Linked DNA regions of Homo sapiens: region 2 is linked to region 1. Evidence: promoter capture Hi-C in 16 types of primary human blood cells and fetal thymus (Javierre and others, 2016). All regions are on one chromosome and are shown on one strand. The core of a region is centred on a gene start or on the middle of the fragment in contact, and the rest is flanking DNA. Distances in the headings are between cores, read along the strand shown.

Region 1 (7,340 bases), core at 2,225-4,724:
CAAATGTTAAGTCAATCATCCACTTTACTTTTTTTTGAGATGGAGTCCCGCTCTGTTGCCCAGGCTGGAATGCAGTGGCGCCACCTCGGCTAACTGCTACCTCCGCCTCCTGGGTTCAAGTGATTTCTCCTCCCTCACCCTCCCAAGTAGCTGGGATTACATTACAGGTGCCTGCCACCACGCCCGGCTAATTTTTGTAATTTTTAGTAGAAATGGGGTTTCGCCATGTTGGGCAAGCTGGTCTCAGAACTCTTTACCTCAGATGATCCGCCCGCCTTGGCCTCCTAATGTGCTGGGATCACGGGCCACTGGCCGCAATCATCCACTTTTAGAACCTGTTGCCAGAAGTGTGGGATAGCTGTACTGTAATTCTAACTAAAGGAGATATATAAAATCAAGTATCCCTAACAAAAAGATGTTCTAAGAACATCTAACCATTATTCAATTCTTTGGCTGCAATTCATATTGTAAGCTAATTAGTACTATTTCCAATAATAATGATTTTAACATTTTTGCCTAAGAATATTCTGATTCCTGTGTTTGCTTATACCCAATATCCAAAATGTTACACAAGCACTACTTTCTGTCACTTCTCAGTACTTTTCACTTCAGACTTGAAGCAGCTAGTTTGTCTATGCCAATTTCGCTTAAAAATACAGAGGACTCTAATATTTTAAGCAGTTACAGTATTTACAAAATATGTTTTTCATTTTTTTCTCTCATTACAAAAGTTGATGTTATTTCTCGTGGTAAATTCAGAAAAACATCAGGGAGTAAACAATGCCAACATCTGAGCAAACATTTTGGGGTATATCTCTATTTTCATGTTTACATTGTCGTTTAAAAAACAATCAAACGACATTAGCAGTTTTCCAACATTTTCCTTTCCAGTTAAAACTGTATACCGTTACCATTTTCCCATCATACTCTTCACCTACGATACTGTTTTAAGTGGCTGTATAGATTTCCACTTTCACAACAGAATTAGCAGATTCCCAAAACTTGAATATTTAATTTTAAAAAAAATTCTTAATAACTGATATTAAATTTATATACGCAAATCTGACACATTACTTCCTTAGGATAAATTCCTGTACGCACAGTCTTTCCATTTTAAGCCTATTATACTATGAAGGAGTCTGAATCAACATCTAAGAGCTCCGAGAGTTCAACACCAGCCTGGGCCATATTGTGAGAACACGTCTCTACAGACGATCAAAAAATTAGCTTGGTGTGGTGGCGCGCGCCTGTGATCTCAGCTACCCAGGAGGCTGAGGTGGGAGGATTACTTAAGCCTGGGAGGTCGAGGCTGCTGTGAGCCGTGAGCCACTGATCATACCACTGCACTCCAGTCTGGGCAACAGAGCGATCCTGTTTCAGAGAAAAAAAAGATCCAAGACCTCTGTAGACCACACTGACAGCACTGCTACTATTTGCAACTGGTCACGACCTATCTGGGCTTTAACCTTCTCTTCTATAAAATTAGGGATTTGAACTACGTGATGCTCCTAAAATACGACACCACCGTTGCACTCCTCAGTAAAAACCATTAACTGACTTGTAATATTAGCGTTTACAAACTCTAAAAGCATTAGTAAAAAAATTAGTATGTTTAAAGACTAAAACAAATGCACAGATCAAGGGTAGTTAAATCCTTCCAAGTTAGTTCAAAATGTGATATAAAAGCTGTACACGGCTGAAAAATATATAAAGATGATAAAGCGAAACTTCTCTGGGTAAAGTACAAAGTAATGTTCTAAGTATATACTGTTAAGTGCAAAGGAAGAAATACAAATTTAAAGCACTTCAACACACATCTGGCTAAATGATCTTTTCCAAATCTTACATAACCAAGAAACTTCATGCAGTATTTTAATGTTGTTTAATTTCGAGTTTGCAAAAACATTCTATTTAAGTGGAAAAGGCATCATCCAGAGCGTTTTTGCAACGAAAATGTCAAGCCTTTCTTGATTTTTAAAACAATACTGTGAAAAACGTCGATAGACTGCGTAGATGACTGAGCCATTAGTAAAGAAATGTTTTTAAAGGGAAATTTTAAACATTTATTAAAATAGCCTGAAACATCATTTTTGTCCGCATAGTCAACTGTTTAGATTTCCCTGGGAGAAAAATGTATTTTACCGACTATTCAGAAATCTTAAGCCAAGGTTTAAAACACAGAACGCAGTACCAATACAAAATCTCGTGACCCCTACCTACGAAATCAACGATTCTTCACATTATTCCAGCGCGCCCGAAAGACTAGCCATTTCAGAACCACCATAACCGTTCTAGAAATATCTGGCTAAAAAACTGTAACTGATCCAATAGGAATATTCCACAGAACAGGGCCACAGAGCAGGATAAACACCTAGGGGATATTCATCCACGGTAAATGCCGAACACAGAACATGGCACAGAGCTCGAAATGCAAAGAACGATGCGGCGACTACACCACGGTACTCCAAAACCCTTTGTCTGGAAACCGGAAGGTCCCACACCACACGATCCTCTCTGGAGGAACCTGGACTAATACTATTTTGATAAAGAGAAAAAGGATGTGAGGTGACTTGACTAAACAAGTGCAAATCACCCGCCTCGCACTGTACTGCAGGCGGCTTGTTCCACGACGCAGTACGAAAAACAAGCGTTAACGTTTCATTTTTCGGCCATTTTTACGCGATGGGGGGCGGGGAGGAATTGTTTCTGATGTCCAGCTAACGCCGCGCGCGCGCGCGCGTGTGGGCCGGGAGTCTTAGGGGGCGCTCTGAGGCGATGGGCAAGGAGCGGCGTGAAGGCCGAGACACCGGGAAAAGAAAGAAACGCTGCTCAAACAAGCAGGCTCTTCAGAGTCTGCGAAATCCTCCATTTTGGGGGAACATTTTCAGAGAAAAAAAGGCGAACGGGTTATTTGGCACTGGCGCTACCCAAGGACTTAGATATCTTAACCATCCTCCTCAAACGGCAAGCCCCCAGTGTACAGTCTGTCCCTCAGGCCTCGAGCGAGCTCCTCCCTCCCCCTCAGCGCCGCGGCCCGCGTGTAACGGGCTAGTCGTCCCGCCCCCGCCCACAACGAGCCCAGGACGCGCAGGAAGCTCGGCCGGTCAGCGCACCTCTTCACCCAAAATCTCCCGCCGCACCCTGGGCCCTTGGCCGGCCGCGTGTTTCCCTCCCGGACCGCTCACCTCCGCCGCCCTAGAAGGCTGGTTGCGCCGCCACTGCGCTCCTAACATGGCGGCCGCCGATCAGGCGGCTCACATACGCAACGCGGAGGGAGGCAGAGCGGGAGCGAGCAAGAAAGGCGCGCCGCCGGCTCCCCGCAGCCCCTGTCGCCGTCGTTGTCCCCTCCCGGCGGACACGGAGAACCCCCAGCCACCCGACCCCGACTCTTACCCGCTTCACGCCTACCTTAGGGAAAGGGAGAGGGAAAAGGAGAGGTACCTCTCTCCCAGCGAGCGGGACGCGGAGACTCCCACAATCCCCCGCAGCAACGGCGCTGGCGAGAAGCGGCGGCAGCGGCTGCAGCCCAAGAACAAACCCACTCTCGCGAGAGAGCTCGCCCCCACCCCCTCGATCTGGTTCGGCGCGCGCCAGGCCCCTCCCCCTACTCAGCGCGCGCACCTCGCTCGTGCACTCGCCTGCGGTCGTTGTTCTTTAATCCCGGAGATCCCTCTCCGTCATCCAGCTGAGGCGGGAAATGGAGGAACAGACGTGGCTTACGAGTTCGAGTCCCATTCCCGAAAAGGCTGTTTGTCAACCTCCTGAATAGCATAATACAAAGTTTAAATAGGGTATGCCTTAGAAGGGATTCGCGAGAGTCCCTGGCTTAGACTCGACTTTTATGCTCTCTGGTTGTTCTGTTTGCCAAGGAATGGTGGAAAGCGCCAGATATTGGGGCCACAAAGGGAAAACGATACCATTTTGGCTGGTTTTTATTTAGGTATGTTTATTTATTTATCATAAATAAACTGTGTTGCTCAGGTTGGAGTGCGCTGGCGTTATCATGGCTCATTGCAGCCTCGAACTCCTATCCTCAAGGGATCCTCCCACCTCAGCCTCCCCAGTAGCTGGGACTACAGGCTCGCACCACCATGGCCAGCTAACTTTTTTATTTTTATTTTTTCCGTAGAGATGGTGTCTCGTTATTTTGCCTAGGCTGGTCTGGAACTCCTTGGCTCAAGCAGTGCTCCCGCCTCCGCCTCTCAGCATTGGATTAAGGGCGTGAGCCTACACGCCCAGCCAGCTGTTTTTTTTGTTTTGTTTTTTGTTTTGAGACGGAGTCTCACTCTGTCACCCAGGCTGGAGTGCAGTGGCGCGATCTCGGCTCACTGCAAACTCCGCCTCCCGGGTTCACGCCATTCTCCTGCCTCAGCCTCCGGAGTAGCTGGGACTACAGGCGCCCGCCACGACGCCTGGCTAATTTCTTTTTGCATTTTTAATAGAGGCGGGGGTTTCACCGTGTTAGCCAGGATGCTCTCGATCTCCTGACCTTGTGATCCGCCCGCCTCGGCCTCCCAAAGTGGCCAGCTGGTTTTTAAAATCAGGAATTCTGTGCAGGAGGGTCGTTGAGGCGGAGGACCGCGAGCCTTTTCCTTCCTAAAGACCACCGCCGCCTTTTGGTGAATTTGACTGAATGCAATACACTCTTGGGACTGAGGTACTGGTTAGGTACCCGGGTTGGAGGGATTTGAGCTCCGGCCTTCAGAGGCTTAAGTAAATTGTTTGGAGACCTAATCTGGCTGCAACTCTCTCCCCAACCATCCTTGCAGAACTCCGCATCTGGAGAGTTGGGAATTTTCCAGCACAGTTAATGATTATAATATGGAGTGCTTTCTATAAGGTGGGCAATGCAATAAGCAGTTTACACATAACCCTACAATAACCTTGAGAGGCGGCTACTGTGGGATACCATTTGGTAGATCACAAAACTGAGACATTAAAAGGTTATGTGATTTGAGGCACGGTAGATCTCGCCTGTAATCCCACCACTTTTGGAGGCCTTGGCGGGTGGATCACTTGAGTTCAAGAGTTCCAGACCAGCCTGGGCATCGTGGCGAAACACCGTCTCTACTAAAATAATAATAATAACACAAAGTTAGCTGGGCGTGGTGGTGTACGCCTGTGGTCCCAGCTACTCACCTGGTACGGAGGACGGGGCTGAGGATCGTTTGAGCCGGAGGCGGAGGTTGCCGTGAGCCTAGTGCACCACTGCACACTCCAGCCTGGGCTACAGAGTCAGACATTGTCTCAAAAAAAAAAAAAAAAAAAAAAAAAAGGTTATGTAATTCAATAAAGTGAAAAAGCTGGTCAGTGGAGTCTTGATGCCTCAACGAAGCACTACCTGAAATGGCATAGCCATAAAAATGAAGTTACTTGGCCAGGCGCGGTGACTCATGCCTGTAATCCCAGCACTTTGGAAACCCGAGGCAGGTGGATCACTTGAGGTCGGGAGTTCGAGACTAGCCTGACCAACATGGAGAAACCCCGTCTCTACTCGAAATACAAAAATTAACCGGGCATGGTGGTGCATACCAGTAATCCCAGCTACTCGAGAGGCTGAGGCAGGAGAATCGCTTGAACCCGGGAGGCGGAGGTTGCGGTGAAGCCAAGGTCGCGCCATTGCACGCCAGCCTGGGCAACAAAAGCAAAACTCCGTTTCAAAAAAAAATGAAGTTACCATCTCAAGACAGGGTAAATTGTTTTATCTACAAAATAAGTAGTAAGCCACTGATTCACAATATTACTTTATCTCAATCTAATTTAGTCAGTGATACAAGAAATATTTCTTGAGTACCTACTGTGTCAATATATTAGGCCTCAGCCAAAGAGCAGGAAAGGAGACAAAGGCACTGCCCTCATGGAGCTTACACTTTATGCAGACATTAAACCAATAAATATGTATTTGAGACGAGTGAATAATCTGAGGGAATGAGGAGCTTTCCTGAGAAACTGAGGTTTGAGCTAATATCTGACGAGTAGGCAATTAACTAGGTGAAGGGAATAAAGCATCCCCAGGCAGAGGGATCAGAATGTGTGAAAACTCTGAGGTAGACTTTGGGAAACTGCAGAATTTTTGGTGTGTTGTTTATTTTTGGAGACAGGGTCTTGCTCTGTTGCTCAGGCTGGAGTGCAGTGGTGTGACCATGGCTCACTGCAACCTCTGCGTCCCGGGTTTAAGCAATCCTTCCGCCTCAGCCTCCTGTGCATAGACATTAAAAAGGGCTGGAGATGTAGGAAAGGGCCATTTCCCTGGGGTTACAAATTCAAATGCAGAATCTAAGATAAACTGGGTAATACAAGTCCTATTTAATACTATCCAACGCAAGTTCAGTTGGGGACACATGAATTTTAAGGTAAGGAGTGGTATATATGGGTCTTGAGCCCAGGGAAAGATTGTGGGTTAGTGACAAATTTACAAGTTAATGCCGTAAACGAAGTAACAGGAGTTGAAAAATAAACTTAAAGCCAGACACAGTGGTTCACACCTGTAATCCCAGCACTTTGGAAGGCTAAAGTGGGCCGATCGCTTGAGGCCAGAAAGTTCAAGACCATCATAGGCAACATGGTGAAACCATGTCTCTACAAAAAATACAAAAATTACCCAGGCGTGGTGGCATACGCACCTGTAGTCCCAGCTACTCCGGGGCAGGGGTAGACAGGGTCAGGGGTGGCTGATGTGGAAGGATCGACTGAGCCTGGGAGGGGGTGGCACTGCACTCCAGCTAGGCAACAGAGCAGGACCCTGTTAAAAAAAAAAAAAAAAAAAAAAAAAAAAGAGCGGCCAGGCGCAGTGGCTCATGCCTGTAATCACAGAATTTTGGGAGGCAGATCGTTTGAGGTCAGGAGTTCGAGACCAGCCTGGCCAACATAGTGAAACCCCATCTCTACCAAAAATATAAAAAATTAGCTGGGTGTGGTGGCGCTCGCCTGTAATCCCAGCTACTTGGGAGGCTGAGGTTGCAGTGAGCCATGATCACACCACTGCACTCCAGCCTGATCAACAGAGCAAGACTCTGTCTCAAAAAAAAAAAAGAACCTTAAGTGGATGCAGTGAAAAAAGAGGCCTGAGCGCCAATCCTTGAGGAACTTTAATCAAGTATAGCAAAGGAAACTTAGTGGACAGGGGTAGGGGGAGAAAAGCAAATATATGTATATATGAAGGGAAGGCAGAGGAAGGAAAGCACAGAAATTGTGTTGCCTTGAAAACAACAACAAAATACTTCAAGGACAAAGTGATCAACAGGGTCAAATGCTACCAAGAGGTCAAGATGAAGACCAATGACATCTACAAGATTTAGCAACATGGATATCAGGTAACATTGAGAGTTGCTTCCACTGAA
Region 2 (7,158 bases), core at 1,885-4,384, 510 kb after region 1:
GTAATGCCACATGGCATTCCAAGCCACCCTCTAAATATGCTCCAAACTATATTAAACCTCTCCTGCAGCCGGGTGCGGTGGCTCACGCCTGTAATCCTAACACTTTAGGAGGCCGAGGTGGGTGAATCACGAGGTCAGGAGTTTGAGACCAGCCTGGCCAATATGGTAAAACCCCACCTCTACTAAAAATACAAAAATTAGCCAGGTGTGGTGGCACATGCCTGTAGTCCCAGCTACTCAGGAGGCTGAGGCAGGAGAATTGCTTGAACCCAGGAGGCGAAGGTTGCAGCGAGCCAAGATACCACCACTGCATTCCGGCCTGGACGACAGAGCAAGACTCCAACTCAAAAAACAAAACAAAACAAAAACCTCTCCTGCCAGCAGTGCTCAACATGACTAGCACCCACCTCCAGCCAGGGACCTCACTGTTTCTCATGCCCATCTTGCACAGTCTATTTTTCTTACCTGGATGAGTTTCCTCCTGCTCCCTTTTTCTACCTTTCAAGATCCAGTGCAAGCTCAAATACCTTTAGTTAACTTTCCCAATCCCATGCTTATCCTCCCATTCCTCTGCCACTCATGCTATTAATTATTTTTCGTATTCATGTATCATTATAAGCTCTGGGGGGGGGGAAAAACAGGAAAAACAGCCTCCTATGTGCTAGAATACCATCTCCCCCTCAGGGACCACACACTATCAACCAGCCCATTCCTCACTCATATTTCCCTGACACAAGCTTCTTCCTAGGAAATCTACTGTTGCTCAGTGCACGAATAATCTATTTGGCCCCTTTACTGAGCAAATATGATTAGAAGCAGTGCAGGAATACAAAAAGGTGGATTTCAGTTTCTTTGGGTCTTCTCCCCCTTCACTGACCCAGAAATGCCCATGAGCTATAGGGAAGAAGCTACAGAAGTAGCAATAATACTGATCCTGGCCTTTGAGATCCAAGTATAAATTGTGGCTAATGGATTATAAAACACTGTTCTAGTAAGAAGCTGTTCCTCATCACTCCACTTCAAATTTAACATTAATGGGCCTCTGTTCATAATATCTCTCCTTTTTCAAAAAAGCTTCATTTAGGTCTTCTCATCTCTGTCCCCTGAAAGTCCCCTATCCGGCTTAAGAGGCTTCTTTTTCTGGTCAGAGCCCTATTCAAGGATTCATAAAATACATTTATGTACCACAAGGCAGCTGCTACTCTTTATCTACTGTTAAAATGTACATGTATGGGGAATGTCTGCTAATGAGTATGAGGTTTCTTTTGGGGGATGATAAAAATGTCCTGGAATTAGATCATGGTGATAGCTGTACAACTCTGAATACCCTAAAAAACACTGCATTGTATACTTTAAATGGGTGATTTTTATGGTATGTGAAATTATATCTCAATTTTTTAAAAAAAACATAAGATTCTCCACCCCTACCCATGCATTTACATTTGGCACTGGAAAGGAAAACACACTTTAAATTTCGAGAAAAAAGCATTTTCTCTTACTGTACTTCTCGGAGAATAATCAATTATCTTACTCAAACATTTAAGTGCCTATCACGGACCAGGTACTATCATAGATACAAACAGAATGGTCACCAGACCAGCACAGAACCTGCACTGCTGGAGCGTAGAGAGGAAAAGGCAACCAACTTAAATTACCACTGTGATAAGCGCTAAGACAAAAAAGAACAAAGGTAAGATTGATCTGATAAGGATGGGGGGATACGGGAGGTAAACAGGATCCTAAAATAAGAAAAGAGCACATCTAAGAGGCATATGTACACCTCTGCCTATATAAGGTAGCTACTCAAAAACGAAGCAGATTAGTAGTACAATTAAACTCTTAGATCACAGAGATTTGGAAGCCATGCAATTGGTGACTGGCTCCTATCCACCACATGTGGCTCACCTGACCATTTCATTAGCCTTGAAGTCAAATGATCCTGTTTTTATGTACGTGAATTTTTTTAACATCACTTACAGCATTATGGTGAAATTTTAGTATACTCACAAATGTGCATATTCATTATTTATGTAATCAGGGTCTAACACAAAAAGAAAGTTACACATCAAAAACTGTGTACATTCCAACTTTTGGTTATTATGATTGCACGGGAAGCAATGGACATGTACAAACCCAAAGATACAGAAGGTCTAATTTTTGGCTCAAAAGTATAATAAATAAACACATAAATAACTACCTTTTTGAAGACAGTAAGCTCATATCTTTAACAGCCTGGGAAAACCCTATATCAGGGTTAGCAAACTATAGCCTGTAATTTTTCTAAATGTTATTAGAACACAGCCATCCCCCATGACCATTTCTTTATATCTTGTCTATAGCTGCTTCCCAAATCAACAGCAGAGCTGAATATTAATAGTTTCAACAGAGACCTTTTTTTTTTTTGGAGACGGAGTCTCGCTCTGTCACCCAGGCTGGAGTGCAGTGGCACGGTCTCGGCTCACTGCCAGCTCCGCCTCCCAGGTTCACGCCATTCTCCTGCCTCAGCTGGGTATACAGGTGCCCACCAACACGCCCGGCTAATTTTTTGTATTTTTAGTAGAGACGGGGTTTCACCGTGTTAGCCAGGATAGTTTTCATCTCCTGACCTCGTGATCCGCCCAACTGGGCCTCCCAAAGTGCTGGGATTACAGGCGTGAGCCATCGCACCCAGCCCAGAGCCCTTATGATCAGAAAAGCCAAAAATACTTATTACCTGGCCTTCTAGAAGAAATTTACCAACCCCCATCCTAAACAACGTCAACAGTGATTCAGAACAAAGACATCTTAAAAATCCTTTAAAAATTAAGTGTTTCAGTGGATGGCATATTTTTATTTATCAGAAAAATTCAGAAAAGTTAGGTCAGGGTTTTACGTAAATGCTCAGGACCACTGAAGCCAGGGCAGGGAAAAGTGTTTGTATAAATTTTCTTTTGCTGCCTAAGAAATTCCAAGAGGTGGCAGCTTAAAACAATTATTAACTCCCAGAGTTTTCTATGGGTCAGGGATTTGGGGTTGGTCAGGACTGATGTTGTCTGAAACTTGACTGGAGGTGGAGGATCTGCTTCCTAGGTGGTTCACTCACATGCTTGACAAATGTGTGCTGACTGATGGTTGGAGACTTCAGTTCTTCTCCACAGGACCTCCTGAGTGCACTCAAGACATAGCAGCCAGCTTCCCCCAGACAGAATAATCCATGAGAAAAAGTGGAGTGGATACGGCCCCATTTTTATAACTTTGCTCCCAAAGTAAATAGCACCACTTCTACCACATTCTAGTCATTGTAGGAATCACTAAGTTCAACCCATGTTCAAGGGTTAGGCTCTATTTTTTTTTAAGGGAGGGGTGTCCAAAGAATCTGCAGACCTATTAACACCACTACAGGGTTTCAAACGATGAGTAAATGGCTTCAACGACATAGCCAACAAGTCTCAGTTGATTAAGCAATCTGTGCTTCATATTTTTGTAATATGTATTTTGTTCTATTTATGATAGAAAAGAGATCTTATCACCATTTGTTAAGATTCTCCAAAGAAAAAAGTAAGCCAAGAGAAAAAAGTAAGGCATTTCAGCTTTTCATATCTGATGCAATAATGATGATGGGAGGAAGTTATATTTTGGTTTTGGCTCTTTTTTTCCAAAGAGAAGGCAAATTATGGTGGACAGGTCATGATAATAAATAATTGCAAAAGTGGACTAGGACAGAAAAGTCCTTATGATTCAGAACCACATAAAAGATTATCATATACAAACAAAAATAACAAAAGCAATTCAGATATGCATTCAAAATTGTGGGGGGTTTGGGGAGCAGGGAATGTATATTATACCATGATTGCTACATATTTGCACTGGAGAAACTTCTGAAATAAGAAACATATAAAGTCAAATTAAAATTACCTACAACAATTAAATGCATTTTAAAAATAAATGTGGCCAGGCGCACTGGCTCATGCCTGTAATCCCAGCACTTCGGGAGGCCAAGGCGAGCAGATCACTTGAGGTCAGGAGTTCGAGACGAGCCTGCCAACAAGGCAATACTATACTATACTATACTACACTACACTACACTACACTATACTATACTAAAAATACAAAAATTAGCTGGGTGTGGTGGCATATGCCTGTAATCCCAGCTACTTGGGAAGCTGAGGCAGAAGAATCGCTTGAACCCAGGAGGTGGAGGTTGCGGTGAGCCAAGATCGCACCACTGCATCCCAGCCTGGGAGACAGAGCAAGACTCCAACTCAAAAAAAGAAAGAAAAGAAAAGAAACGTCAGTCACTAGAGCCAGCAAACACTGCCCAAACTCATCTGTTAATATGATTGTGAGTTTCGTTATAGAAGACAAGAAGGGCTGGGGAGGAGAATGTACCACAGAATACAATTAAGTAATAGCCTGATTTCCTCAACAGCAAGCTCAAAAACTGTCCTGAACTGGACCATTAAACTACTTTAAAATAAATTAGGCCGGGCGCGATGGCTCACGCCTGTAATCCCAGCACTTTGGGAGGCCGAGGCGGGCGGATCACGAGGTCAGGAGATCGAGACCATCCCGGCTAAAACAGTGAAACCCCGTCTCTACTAAAAATACAAAAAATTAGCCGGGCGTAGTGGCGGGCGCCTGTAGTCCCAGCTACTTGGGAGGCTGAGGCAGGAGAATGGCGTGAACCCGGGAGGCGGAGCTTGAAGTGAGCCGAGATCCCGCCACTGCACTCCAGCCTGGGCGACAGAGCGAGACTCCGTCTCAAAAAAAAAAAAAAATTAATTAATTAATTCAAAACTCACTGTACTGGGTTGAATAGCATTGCCCAAAAATTCATGTCCACCTGGAACCTGTGAATGCAACTTTATTTGGAAACAGGGTCTTTGCAGATGATATCAAGTTACGATGAGGTTATACTGGATTAAGGTGGGCCCTAATTCAATGGTTGATGTCCTTATAAGAAGAGGGAAACTTGGACACAGAGACACAAAAAAAGAAAAGTATATGATAACAAAGGCAGAGACTGGAGTAACATGTCTGCAAGCCAAGGAATGCTAAGAATTGCTGGCAACCACCAGAAGCTAGGAAAGAGGCATCCACAGATTCTTCCTAAGTCCCAACAAGGAATCAAGCCTGCCAACACCTTGATTTCAGATTTCTGGCCTTCAGAATGATGAGAGAATAAATTTCTATTATTCTAAGCCACCAAGCTTGTAATAATTTATGTTATAGAAGCCCTAGGAAACTAATATACCTGCCTAATTAGTACTGTGGAATTCTAATAATTTCATCATTTTCAGTATTAGAAATATTTATCTTCAGCCTGAAAACTGAAAAAATATTTACCATTGAAGGTTATTTGTTCACAAATTCAGAAAACAATTGGAGATGTTATCTCCATCTAAGGCACTGCCCATTTATGGGTACTGCCACAGGGATGAATTTGACATAAGACTCTGGACTATGCAATCTACCATCAGGCACGAAAGATCTATGAAGTTCTCCCAAGGGTTAGTAAAGCACCTGTAAATAGCAGGGCTCGATTTACCTTAGCTGATATCCAATAACCTAAAAAACCTACATCATTGTTGAAATTCTCCGACTGGAAAAGAAACCTAACACACAACTACAGGTTTCAAGGCCGGGCACTGTGGCTCATGCCTGCAATCCCAGCACTCTGGCAGGCCGAGGCAGGCGGATTGTTTGAGCTTGGGAGTTTGAGACCAGCCTGGGCAACTAGTGAAACCCCATCTCTACTAAAAATAAAAACTGCAGGTTTCAAGAAGTTTATCTTCCGTATTTAAAGTCTTCCTTCCACATTTGTAACATAATAAGGACAATTTTTCTAGCATTAATTATTAGTAAACTGTGGATTACCATTTTACTTTTTATCAATTCTGAATTTCCCAAAACATGATTCCTTTATACCCAGATTTATGTCAAGCTCCAACCAGTTCAAATATGCATGGCTGATTTAACATACTATTCTGACACAATAGGACAATTTCTAGAGTATTTTCAGAGTAGGTAGATATTTTTCCATTTTATCACACCCATCTCTTCAGCATGAACTAAAAAGAAGTATTACACAGGATGAAAAGTAAACTTCGGTCCCATTTCTTTCCTATCAATTTGTGTTACAACATTTCTAAGACTTAACTATTACTTGAAATACCCAAGAGAAGTGGATTCAGATTCTCCAGATGTCCCTCTGCAAGCATCTCTCATGATTAAAATGAGCCAGTCCAACTTAATACATCTCCAATAACTAAGTTACTGAGCAACTGGCAAGCATAAGAATGAGAATTAAAATATGAGCCAGTCCAACTTAATACATCTCCAATAACTAAGTAAGTTACTGAGCAATTGGCAAGCATAAGAATGAGAATACTGACCACAAAAAAAATCTTCAAACACTGATTTTCTAGAAAGGCCTGCCTCTCTTTACCTAAAAAGCAGTAATGACCTACCTTGTTTTCGAACATCTTCTACAGCAGCCACAAGCTCCTCCTTGAGAAACTGGCTCTCCTTCGCAATTTTATCCCCCTTCTCCAAGAAATTCTCAGTTGCTTGTTCAACAGATGCAGCCAAAACATGGGCCTTCTTAGAACGACCTCTCTTCTTATTAGAGGGCCCTTTACTATTGGTGTTTACAAGGGTTGTAACCTAAAAGTTTCATTTTTAACATTAAACTGGAGTCAATTAAAATGACAAACTAATATCTTTAAAGACAGCAAGATTAAGTTATTCTTTTAAAAAATCACATGAGATTCCACTGAACATTAACATACAATTCCCCATATTTAAGATATACAGCAATGATGCTATATTTAATTTCCAAAATAATTCAGCTTTCTTAATGTGTACAGAGAATTATTTAACACATATTTTAATTTCTCAAATATGATCATTAGGTTTTTAGTTTGATTTTACAAATTAAAAAATGATTAGAGACAAGTTAGATGTCTCTACTATATGTCACCAAGATGTTCCAGAAAGAGGTTAACAATGAACTTAGCTTTATCTGGAGATCACACTGCCACTGTTTTCAAACTTTGCAAAACATTTTAAGATAATTTGCTTCTGAAGTCTTTTGACAGTTTATTCACACAAATCTCAGCAATTAGTAAAGGTCCCAATAAACGAATGATTGCCCAAAGAAGCCTACAGTGATGACGC

The links. The method cuts DNA at HindIII sites, captures the fragments that hold promoters and counts their contacts. A CHiCAGO score of 5 or more calls a contact.
Region 2: a fragment that was not itself captured here is called in contact with the fragment with the promoter of MATR3 in region 1 in 1 of 17 cell types (M1 macrophages); the score reaches 5.8 in M1 macrophages.

What each region holds. Positions count from the first base shown.
Region 1 is chr5:139,289,874-139,297,213 of GRCh38, reverse strand. It overlaps MATR3 (matrin 3), which reads right to left and starts at 3,474. Exons shown (of 15, transcript NM_018834.6): 1 at 3,409-3,474. It overlaps LOC124901081 (a long non-coding RNA gene), which reads left to right and starts at 3,657. Exons shown (of 4, transcript XR_007058956.1): 1 at 3,657-3,940. RefSeq lists enhancers at 1,996-2,698, 2,699-3,402. The HindIII fragment of the contact is 8,607 bases long and covers 1-7,340 here.
Region 2 is chr5:138,782,664-138,789,821 of GRCh38, reverse strand. It overlaps CTNNA1 (catenin alpha 1), which reads right to left. Exons shown (of 18, transcript NM_001903.5): 3 at 6,450-6,645. Among named protein-coding and RNA genes, the nearest start is that of CTNNA1-AS1, 32 kb to the right of the region's middle. The HindIII fragment of the contact is 4,115 bases long and covers 1,077-5,191 here.